3 separate regions of the Homo sapiens genome follow, and regions 2 and 3 are each linked to region 1. Evidence: promoter capture Hi-C in 16 types of primary human blood cells and fetal thymus (Javierre and others, 2016). All regions are on one chromosome and are shown on one strand. The core of a region is centred on a gene start or on the middle of the fragment in contact, and the rest is flanking DNA. Distances in the headings are between cores, read along the strand shown. Region 1 holds the start of ANGPT2 (angiopoietin 2). Region 2 has its middle 15 kb from the start of MCPH1-DT. Region 3 overlaps MCPH1-AS1 (MCPH1 antisense RNA 1).

Region 1 (3,852 bases), core at 449-2,948:
CTTTTTCTAGGGTCATGCGTCAAATGAGGCTCACCAACTTTTAAAAGACTTTACATAGCTTTAGATAATCACATTCCCTGCCATGTAAGCATTGTGATGTAATGGCATCATCATGCTACTTAACAATTAATTTATGCATTTTGTTTAAACTTCCTTTAGAATATATATAGTCCATATAAAGAAAATTCCAGGTTCGTTTTGGATTTTGTATAAATAGCTCCCATGTTTACATGTGAAAAAAAATTATTTATGAAAGAAAAACAGAGCTTTCAATATCCTATTTTGGTTACGTCTCCATAAAAACTCTAGGAAACAGTGGGATCATCTGTGAAACAGTGGAATCACCCCAAGAACAAACTGTCAGACAGACCGTCCTGTCGTGGCATGACTTGAACATAACCGTCCCACGTGGGGACGCATTCCGCACCGGTTGCTGGAACTGACGGGGGCTGCAGTGCTGAATACCTCTGGGACGCTTGGGAACTGTGCCCCTGTTTACAGACGGCAAGCCCTTAGTGGTAGGGCCCTGAGATTCTGAGAAACATAAGGTCTGCTTTATTTAATTTCCTCTCGTTTACCAAGAGTCACAACCTATTTTAGTAAATAAATTCAGGAAATTGGTAAAGCACTTTACTCCATCCGTTATGCCTCGGTCATCAGCATGGTTGTCACGGTCTCTCTGGCTCACGGGCTGCTGCGGCTCACAGCCTTCCCTCACTTGCCTGCAACCAGCTGAGAGCCTCCCTGGTGATGGGTGTTACTGAGCTTAAACGATGTAAACAAACAGAACGGCACACAAGTTGTGCAGGGAAGTATATTTCCTCTACCTTGTTAATAAAGATTTCTAACTTTAGAGATTTTCTGTATTGACTCTGGCATTCTTTCCAAATAATTATTTTCACCCCGGGGACTACCCACACACCCTGGGATAGAATAAAAGAAATTATCTTTCATTTGAGGGTACCAGCAACCCGCTCTCCAGCTCTAATCCTCTTCATCCTCCTTCTTTTTTTTTTTTTTTTTTTGGTTGTTAAAACCTGAGCTGCTGCCAAGCTGATCTTAATAGCATGTTCACAAAGACAGATGGATTTTTTTCCTACCTTCATTAGCCACTGAGTGTTGTTTTCCATGATGTTCTCCAGCACTTGCAGCCTCTGCACCGAGTCATCGTATTCGAGCGGCGCGTCCCTCTGCACAGCATTGGACACGTAGGGGCTGGAGGAAGAGCGGCAGTTGTCCATCTCTGGCAGGAGGAAAGTGTAGCTGCAGGACCCATGCTGGACCTGATATTGCTTCTTTCCTATGCTGTCCATGCTCTTCCGAAAGTTGTTATAGGCTGCGGCCAAGACAAGATCACAGCTCAGAGTAAAGAAAACAATCTGCCACATTCTTTCTTCAGTAATAAACCAGCAGCTTAGCAAACTTGAGGGCAAACACACGTCCAGAGTCCCGAGCTGCTGCCGTCTAAAACGCAGGGCTGCTACGCTGCCATGGCTGGGTCCGTCAATGAAAGTCTTCTCTTTCCTCTTTTTCCAGTAGCAAACCTGGTTTTTACTGCTGTGTTCTCTCCAGGCATGCAGTAAACTGTCAGATTGCAGTGGGAAGAACAGTCCTGCTCACTTGGGAGGGCTGTGTCAGCTTTTACAGAGCAGCTTTCACGGTCCTTTGTTCCTCTCTCCCCAGATCCTACAGTGTCAGTATCCGAATCAATCACTTTCCTTTCCTTATATGATAAGTTGATAAGAGCAGCCAGACATGTGTAGTGGGCTGCTCCGCCCTCCTGGCTTAGCCGTTATCTTCCTGTAGGGGGTCACTAGCCAGGCAACAGGAAAAATCAGAGCAGAATGCCTGCCCTCCAACCAGGACCCATGCTGCAGAAACCCTCTGGGAAAAACCGATCTGTTACAGGACCCCTGGGCATTTCCTAGGCACCACCCCAATTAAGTATTTCCTAGAGAGAGCAGTTGATCTCTTTTGTCTGAAACTGATTTTTGCCGTGCTAAGCTGGCAAAATATCTGAGGTAATAACTTTAATGTTGAAGTACAATGAAAGTTCCTGTTTTTTCCTTTAGGAATAAAAATATTACAAATAGGTCAGGACTTCGGTTTATTTTTGTTATTACAAATAAAGAGGAAGAAGTTTGGCTCCTGTAAACGTGTGCCTTTTCAGAGGGAAAAATAGATTCATTGATTTTAGTTGATTCTTGAACCACTAGCCAAGTTACAAAAGATTTTCATTTCCGAACAGTTGGATAGAAAGATCTGTTATTAAGTCACGTTAGAAACATCAGTTTCTGAGCTCTGACCTTTATTCTTTAAAAAAACTCCACTTGGATATTCACTCTAAAAATACACTGTACTGATTAAGTTCATTACATTACAATAGAGAAATTAGAATTTAAGTGCCTGTGTAGAAAGAGGAATACAAACTTTTTTTTTTTTTTTTTTTTTTTGAGACGGAGTCTCGCTCTGTCGACCAGGCTAGAGTGCAGTGGGGCAATGTTGGCTCACTGCAACCTCCGCCTTCCGGGTTCAAGTGATTCTCTTGCCTCAGGCTCCTGAGCAGCTGGGATTACAGGCAAACGCCACCACACCCGGCTAATTTTTGTATTTTTAGTAGAGACAGGGTTTCACCATGTTAGGCTGGTCTCAAACTCATGACCTTGTGATCGACTCGCCTTTGGCCTCCCAAAGTGCTGAGATTACAGGTGTGAGTCACCATGCCTGGCCCACAAACTTCTTTATTGTGTCAGAATTTGTTGACATCTCAGCATTTTGTAACACATTATCAATTACATTAGTCCCCCTTGGTATTAGACTCGGGCAAGTCACTTCCCTGTTTTAATTAAGCTCTAATGTCCTCATCTGTGCAATTCAAGGGGTGCACTCACAAGATTTTTCACCTTCAATCCTATGGCTCTGTAAGTTCTGCAAGTCACTTCCTTTAACAACTAAAACTTAATACTTCAGAGATTAATAATATGTTAACTCAGCAGCCCAAGTGTACATAGGGAAAAAGCCCCCTGCCTTTGCTGCGGTTTATCTCTCAAGGTACAAGGTTTATTATTCCCAGTGAGCGCTGAATAGCTGGTACACTGACTTAACAGACCACATCTACCCATAAAAGATCTTTATTTTTTACTAAGCTCTAACCGAAAGACAGCCTTTCCCTTATCAATGAATAGTTAACGAACAACAGTGTGAATATCTGTGACTTTCTCATCCTCAGAAATCAGCTCTTTTTATTTGCTGCCACAATACTCAGAACTACATTTTTATTAAACCCAGCCCTAGATCTTGCTACTGAACATTGGAATAAAGTAGCATGTGTCTTCTTTTGAGAAGGTGTTTATAGGCTTCACCAGACAACCAAAGGGTTCTGTCACACAGAAAAGCTGGAAGACATGCTCTGGAAGGATCTCATTAGTAGAAGAGGTAGTATGATTCCACCAAGGTTCTGGACATGGTTTCCACTAAGGGAACCAATTAAAGATGCTATACCCATCCGGACAGTGCACCGTCGAAGAAAGCATATAGGTCTTAAAGATGAGACCTGTGTTAGAACCCTGCTTCTGTGTGACCTCCAGCAAATGCTTCCATTCTTGGAGCCTCAGTCTCCCTAGTCATAAGATGGAGATCATTTTTTCTCTGTAGGGTTTTTAGGATTAAGATATAATTGTATGTTTAGAAATATTTGTTCCTTTTCTTTACAGGCATGCTCCATTAAATGGGGATCAGTTCTTCCACCATCAAATAGTATAACTCTGCTATTCTCTGAATGCAAAGCAGTGGCAGTGGCATAGGGTACAATTTTTTTATTTCCTGTTTGAAAAAGCATATTGTAAGGTATTA
Region 2 (3,852 bases), core at 935-3,434, 170 kb before region 1:
GGGTGGGGACTTGGGGAACTTTTCTGTCTAGCTAAAGGATTGTAAATGCACCAATCAGCGCTCTGTGTCTAGCCAAAGGTTTGTAAACGCACCAATCAGTGCTCTGTGTCTAGCTAAAGGTGTGTAAACACACCAATCAACACTCTGTAAAAACAGACCAATCAGCACTCTGTAAAATGGGCCAATTAGCACTCTGTAAAATGGACCAATCAGCAGGATGTGGGTGGGGCCAAATAAGGGGATAAAAGCTGGCCACCGGAGCCAGCAGTGGCAATGCAGTGGGGTTGCCTTCCACACTGTGGAAGCTTTGTTCTTTTACTCTTTGGATCAGCACTGTCTTTATGAGCTGTAACACACCACAGAGGTCTGCAGCTTTACTCCTGAAGTCAGCGAGACCAAGAACCCACTGGGAGGAATGGAGAACTCTGGACACACCACCTTTAAGAGCTGTAATACTCACTGCAAAGGTCTGCGTCTTCACTCCTAAAGTCAGCAAGACCACCAACCTACCAGAAGGAAGAAACTCCAGACACATCTGAACATCTGAAGAAACAAACTCCGAACACACCATCTTTAAGAACTGTAACACTAATTGTGAGGTTCCGTGGCTTCATTCTTGAAGTCAGTAAGACCAAGAACCCACTGGAAGGAACCAATTCTGGACACACCAGCATGGTGTATGGAAGGATATGCAAACACAGCAGTGAACCAAATAGACAGGGTCCCTTCCTCAGGAGACAGAGAATACACCATCATCAACCAGGTTGCTCAGAAGAATTTTCTGTGGACGAAAGCAATTGTTCTTCAACACTCTTAGTCTCATTTAAAGCTAAATTGCCTCCAATTCTTTCTGGAAGCAAAGCAATAAACACAGAGAGTGACCATTGTGGGAAAATGCTCATAGTATACTGTTAAACTGGAAAAAAAAAAAGTACGGCACCAAATTATAGGTGGTATGATCTCAGATGTGTTAAAAATTCACTGTTCAGGGCCCATATTCAAACTGGGACACACTGGCAGATCTATGCTTATTGCTAAAATACTGGAATATTCCTGGGTCACTTGAAGATGCTGCTGTCTTGAACCATCTTAGGATTTGCCGCCCCACCCATCTCTACCTTTCTTCTGGTTTCCACCTGGCTTCCCAGGCATCCAGCGACTGAAGGATTAACATGGGGCCCAGCGGGGGCCTGCAGGGTTCAGCTCCACACACAGCTGAGGTCTGTTCTCATTGTTTTGCTGCCTGTGCCATATTTGAGTTCATTCCCTAAGAACTCTACTATCTTGGATTCTTCAGTCAGCCACAAAGTTGCATTTTTATTACTCAAAAACATTGCCAAGGCATAAAACTAAGATAAATCATTATTTTTCTTGCAAATAATTGGGGCTCTTTGGTTTTTCATTCCCTCTGCTTTCCCATCCTCTTCCAGTCATTCACTTAGTTCAAATACTCATGATGTTTAGAAATATTTCATGTTTGTGAGTGCAAGCATACTAATTATTCTATCCTGTCAAATAATCTCATTGTAGAACGTAAAAAGCATTTTAAAAATTTTTTTCCATTAAAGACAAGGGTATTTGGCAATTATTATTCAAGAAAAAAGTCACCTTAGCTTCTAATATCAATAGAACTGTATTTTCAATCGAAAAAGCTTCCTGTTAATGAATGATAGTCAATTTTCTACACCAACTTTTAAATTTTTTTGGTTTTATAGAAATACCATAAAGGAAAATGTACCTGAATGATCTGTGCTTCATCTTTGAAATTCATGAACTCCTAGGAAACCCAGATCCACAGCTGCCCTAAATGTTTACCCTGTGCTGGGAGAAGGGAAGATTCGCAGGTAACTTCAGACTCCAGGGCGCCAGCATTTTCTTTCTGAAGTGCGGCCCTTTCATCTGACTTGTTTGCTGGGACTTTTCAGAGAGGTTCGCGTCCTGATTCCTGTCCAAGTGTTGTCAGGCTGTTAGGAAGAAATCTCTGAAAAGGCCTCCGCCTGCTGAGCCGAAGTGTGGGCTTCACAAAAGTCAATACTTTCAACTTTTCCTTTGCCCTGGGTGTGTTTAAAGGGGCTTTCCAGTACAGATCCCTTTTATTGCAGGTGAGGGTTGGTAGAGAAATAATAGCTTTCATCTTTTGTCCTTCTGCGAAGAATAAAAATGAAGAAACAGGGATGCCCTCTTTTAGGCTTTACGAGATCCTTTTTTTAGATGGATTTATCTGATTAAAAATCTTGAATAGAAATGCTATGACAAAAAAATAGTAGACCATATTAGTGCAAACATCAGGTCTCCTTGAGCTCATTAATTTTAATTCACTTTGTTCTTAATAATGAGAGTTTTAGCCCCTAGGCTTTCGTGATGGGTAGTCCTGGTCCTATGAAGAGGGAGTGAGTCAAGTGATAAGAGGTTCATTACCATCTGGAGCCTAAGACGGCTCCTGGTGCATAGAAGATGCTCGATAAATATCTATGGAAGGAATAGCAAATGAGAAATGAACAGATCAGGCCTGATGGCAAGAGGCCCGAGTTCTAGAACGGAAACTAATTTAAGTGGCTCTCTTTCTGAGTTGCTAGCCTGATTTCTTGAATCTGTGAAACAAATAGATTGGATTTGATGATAGCACCCTTTAAATTTAGTATTTTCTTGTGTCAGGGACAGGTCTTTTTCAATATGCTATTGCTTAGTCAAGTCTTAAAGATTTCATTTTTTTAACAAAGCTTTTTGCAACCGCTCTAAAACTGCCTTAAAACAGCACTAAATCAAAGAATCTTTACACTTGAGGCTATATTCTGGACAGAGTAAATAGCTTTCCAAAGTTTATATATGGAATACCTTTCTTTTAATATAGTATTTGATAACAGTATTTTCCTAGACATCAGAATTTCTATACTAAATTCTTCCTACCATTAACAGAGATGATTTTTAAATGGGATAGCAAACTGCCTTTCTATTGATAGGGTGAGATGTTGCTATGATTTCAATGTTTGTGCCTGCCCCCAAACTCATACATTGAAATCCTAACTCTCAAACTGATGGCACTAGGAGGTGGGACTTTAGGAAGGTGATTAGGTTATGAACCCTCATGAGTGGGATTAGTGCCCTTATAAAGGAGGCCCCAGGGAGCTACAAAGCTCCTTCCACCACATGAAGATACATCAAGGAGATGCATCTCTGAAGTCAAGAGCGACCTTTACCAGACACCAAATCAGCCAGCACATTGATCTTGGACGTCCAGCCTCCAGACTGTGAGCAATATATTTCTGTTGTCTATAAGCCACACTTTTTTTTTTTTTTTTTTTTTGAGACAGAGTCTCGCTTTGTCACCAGACTGCAGTGAAGGTGGCGCGATCTCAGCTCACTGCAACCTCCACCTCCCAGGTTCAGGCGATTCTTCTGCTTCAGACTCCCAAGTAGCCGGGACTACAGGCATGCGCCACCACGCCCAGCTCATTTTTCTATTTTTAGTAGAGATGGGGTTTCACCATTTTGGCCAGAATGGTCTCAATGTCTTGACCTGGTGATCTGCCTGCCTTGGTCTCCCAAAGTGCTGGGATTACAAGTATGAGCCACCATGCCTGGCCAAGCCACCCATTTTAGATTTTGTTATAGTAGCCCTGATCCGACTAAGCCAGCTATATTCAATGGTTAAGTTTGATTTCTGGGTTGCATATTCTTGGACTCCTTATTTTCTGTTGCCATGTGCATAAGCAAACATAGTCTAGTTGGTTACAACGGTGCTGGACACGTGAGGCTGTGACTCAACAGTCACCAGTATTTGCCTTCCACTCTGAGAGGTGAGGACCATTAGGGCTAATAATGTGGCCCAGTCAGCTATTTTCCTGCCATAAT
Region 3 (3,852 bases), core at 801-3,300, 140 kb after region 1:
GGTCTCAAACTCCTGGGTTCAAACAATCTGCCCACTTTGGCCTCACACAGTGCTGCGATTATAGGCATGAGCTACCTGTAGTGCCCAGCCTGGAAGGGGTATTTTTAAAGCCTTTTCAGATAATGTGACTATTCTTCTTTCATATTACACTAAAACTCAGGAACTGGTAATTGCTTAAAGGTTAGTAGCCATGTAAAGTCTGAAATTATATCAATGAAATTTTTGTAGTTAAATTAAAACCTATTGGTATATCTTGTGCTTGCAAGAGCCATTTACCCATTCATCATTTTAAAATATCATGCATTATTTAAAAAACATTGGTTTGGTTTACTGCATTGTGCCAACCTTCCAAATTCTGACACATTGCATCATACAGTATTGAAAAATCACAATGGTTGCTATTACCACAGTCCTCATGAAAAAGGTCTTCAAGAACTGAGAAGGTGTCAAGCTCATAGAGCAATATAAGTTTTCCAAGATTCAAGTTTTCACTTGAAAGCTTCAATTTTATTGTTGGCAACATTACCCACTGTTTTCTTTTGAAGTGAATTTGTTTTTGAAAAAAGTGTCTGCCAGACTCACCACTTTATCTGCTAGTTATTCTTTCAAGCAAAAGTGATGTTCCACGAAAAAAGTAGCTCTCAGCTTGCAGCTCAGAGGTTGTTTCCTACAGGGGAGCTATTGAGCTTTGGTATGCTTCCCATGTGCTTCATGCAAGTTCCATTTAGTCACATGGAGTATTCATAAGATGTGTACTCCACAGTTGACATTTAATAAAATTGACTTTTTTTTTTTTTTTTTTTTTTTGCTATCACATTCAGGCTATTCTTAAGCGTTTTTCTGCCATGATCACATTGTGATGAAGAACATGATGGTCACTAGTAGGTAACTTTCTGTGTCATTGCCTTACTCTCAGTGAGGTGCTAGTGGATTTACCTACCCCTGCTTTTGCATCACCACTGTAAATCTAATAGTGAAAAGGCAAATGATGTCTCAGTATCACTGTGAAAACATTTTTCCCTTGGACCAGCTGAAAGCATCTTGAGGAGCCTGAAGGCTTCAAGGTCCACACGTCAAAAAAACACAGCCCTAGACTGATGGTGGCCCATTATGGGTGGGGTCAGCTTCCCCCTAGATCACATGGGTTCTGTTGGGAGGGGTGGCTTGTCTGCATGACCATCTTAGTCACCTCAAGGAGGGAAGGGGCAAAGGATTGCCAAGCATCTACTGCGTAAGTAGATAGCTGTAACCTCTGGGTAAGAAAGTGGGATTGGGTGCGGCATGAGGGAAATGTCCACATTTCATTCAATATTCAAAACATAGGATTGCTTACACTTTTTATAACAGGAATGCCTTCTTGTTTTATCTGTGCAAACAGCAAAATAAAAGCATGAATGGGAACTGACCAAAGTTTTATTTAGTTTTTACAGAAATAGGATCATAGTGCATGTATTATCCAGCAACTTGCTTTGTCACCTAGTGTCCTGGAGATCTGTCCACGACTACGCATTTAGTGCTACTTATTCCTGTCCAACTGCTGCATACCATTTCACTTATCAGTACTGTGTATCCACAAAGCTATTCTGCTACTGATGTGCACTTAGGTAGATGGACTGATTAAAAGGGTATCTGTCTGTATTAGGCTGTTCTTGCATTGCTATAAAGAAATACCTGAGACTGGGTAATTTATAAAGAAAAGTGGTTTAATTGGCTCACATTTTGGCTGGCTGTACAGGAAGCATAGTGCTGGCATCTGCTCAGCTTCTGGGGAGGCCTCAGGAAACTTACAATCATGGTGAAAGGAAAAGGGAGAGCAGGAGCAAGAGTGAGTGGGGAGGTGCTACGTGGTTTTCAACCACCAGATCTCGCGAGAATCACTCACTATCCTGAGGACAGTGCCAAGAGGGACGGTGATACCTATTCATGAGAAAACTGCCCCTGTGATCCAATCGCCTGGCACCAGGCCCCACCTCCAACATTGGGGGTTAAGACTGATAATGAGATTTGGGTGGGGACACAGATCCAAACCATATGGCTGTCCATTCTTAGAACATACTGTCAAATTTCCTTCCAAGAACACTGTACATGAGGGATTCGTTTTTCTCTCCATACATGGTCACCACCAAAGGCTAAGCTACCATCATCCTTTCTAGCTGGGAGTCTAGCTATAGTCTCCAAACTGTTTAAAATATACTCTCCACAATGCCTGAACAACTTTTAAAAAGATCAAATATAAGCATGTCACTCCTCTCCTTAAAATCTCAGTAGCTTCCCTGTCCTTTGGGATAAATTCTAAAATCCTTATGTGTCCCCCAAGACCCTGCTGTCATCTGGTTCTTGCCTATCTTTCCAGACTCAATCCCTAGCATCCTTGTCTCCTTTCCTTACCCCAATTATTTCTGTAAAAACAATCTTCAAATGGAGGCATGCGTATCCCTGAGAATATGGACACGTGGTCATGAGGAGTTTCAAGGGATTCAGTTTTCAGATCCCAACTCTTCTAAAAGTGATCTGTCTGAGGACTCCTGCAGTCCAGGCCCACCTGGCATTTCATAATGGCTCCTCTCCCCCCTGGCACATCCTAAATCTTACTACATTGTGCTGCCCTGCTGAGGTAGAAAGGTGTAATAAACCTTAGGACACCAACAGAGATAACTTATTTAAGAGATGCATTTCTTGTAACTTTTTTTTTTTTTTGCCTACAATTCCTTATCAGATTTTGTGAAACACATTGATTAAACTGTGTATTGCTAATAATAGTAACAGTTCAATCCAGAAGAAAATTTGCTTCTTAGGACCCTAATGATACAGTCTGATCAGTAAAAAACTTTGAAGGATAGAGCATATTCAATTATGATAGAATCCTGTGGTAGAAGTGAAATAAAAATATTTTCAGGGAGAAAAATAATCAATGCAAAATTTTCAACTGGTCAAAGGCTTAAGTATTTTTGAAATGAATGATGGGGTGGATATTAAGTCACTATAATATTTATAACTCACTGCATACATTTAAAAATTTTCTGTAATCACTTTATTTTCAAAACATCATTCATAACTCATCAGAACTTCATAACTACTTAAATTTATAATTAAAAGCCTTTTTAAATTTATCATTAAAAGCCCCCCTCTCCCCACCTTTTTTTTTCTTTGAGATGGACTCTTTCTCTTTTGCCCAGGCTGGATTGCAGTGACGCGATCATGGCTCATAGCAGCTTTGAACTCCTGGGCTCAAGCAATCCTCCCAACTCAGCCTCCTGAGTAGCTGGGGCTACAGGCATGCACAATCACACCCAGCTAATTAAAAAAATATATTTGTAGAGATGGAGGCCTCACTCTACAAAGCGCTTAAGTGATCCTTCCTCCTTGGCCTCCTGAAGTGCTGGAATTACAGGTATAGGCCACCATGCCCAGCTGAGAAAAACATTTAAATATCAGTTTAAGAATGTGTGATGGGAATACACAGCATTCTTTCAAGGGGCATCTCAACAAATTTTAAAAAGAACACTGTGGCCCACTCCAGTGCTATGCATGAGAATATGGTGATTTCTCAGCTTCAGGCGTTCAAATGTGCCATTCTCCCATGGAAAGCCCACTAAGTCCCTCAAGCTTCACCTGAAATACCATTTCACTGAGAAGTCTTCCTTGTCTCCAGACTAAATTAGATTGCCTTGATATATGCTCCCAGAGAACCAAGAATGTCCCCTTTTCATCCCACAGGTAACTCCTTGTTAAATGTTGTACAAGGAAGGCATAGACAGAATTCACCTTTCACTGTTCCACTGGTGCCCAGCAGGGTATGCAAAGGAGGAAATCAGCTGTGCTCTGAAAGAAGCACCATTCCAGTAAAGGGGA

Evidence for each region. Contacts are between HindIII fragments. The CHiCAGO score rates a contact against its expected background, and 5 or more counts as called.
Region 2: a contact is called between a fragment that was not itself captured here and the fragment with the promoter of ANGPT2 in region 1, in 12 of 17 cell types (activated CD4 T cells, fetal thymus, non-activated CD4 T cells and 9 more). The highest score is 12.4, in activated CD4 T cells.
Region 3: a fragment that was not itself captured here is called in contact with the fragment with the promoter of ANGPT2 in region 1 in 9 of 17 cell types (naive B cells, total B cells, erythroblasts and 6 more); the score reaches 23.6 in naive B cells.

What each region holds. Positions count from the first base shown.
Region 1 is chr8:6,561,547-6,565,398 of GRCh38, forward strand. ANGPT2 (angiopoietin 2) reads right to left here and starts at 1,699. Exons shown (of 9, transcript NM_001118887.2): 1 at 1,101-1,699. The coding sequence starts at 1,388. The region is part of intron 12 of MCPH1 (microcephalin 1); the gene reads left to right. RefSeq lists enhancers at 516-1,041, 1,042-1,568. The HindIII fragment of the contact is 4,979 bases long and covers 1-3,852 here.
Region 2 is chr8:6,389,910-6,393,761 of GRCh38, forward strand. No RefSeq gene overlaps it. Among named protein-coding and RNA genes, the nearest start is that of MCPH1-DT, 15 kb to the right of the region's middle. RefSeq lists an enhancer at 128-1,327. The HindIII fragment of the contact is 1,068 bases long and covers 1,651-2,718 here.
Region 3 is chr8:6,702,663-6,706,514 of GRCh38, forward strand. All of the region lies in intron 1 of MCPH1-AS1 (MCPH1 antisense RNA 1), which reads right to left. Among named protein-coding and RNA genes, the nearest start is that of MCPH1-AS1, 3.6 kb to the right of the region's middle. The HindIII fragment of the contact is 3,107 bases long and covers 498-3,604 here.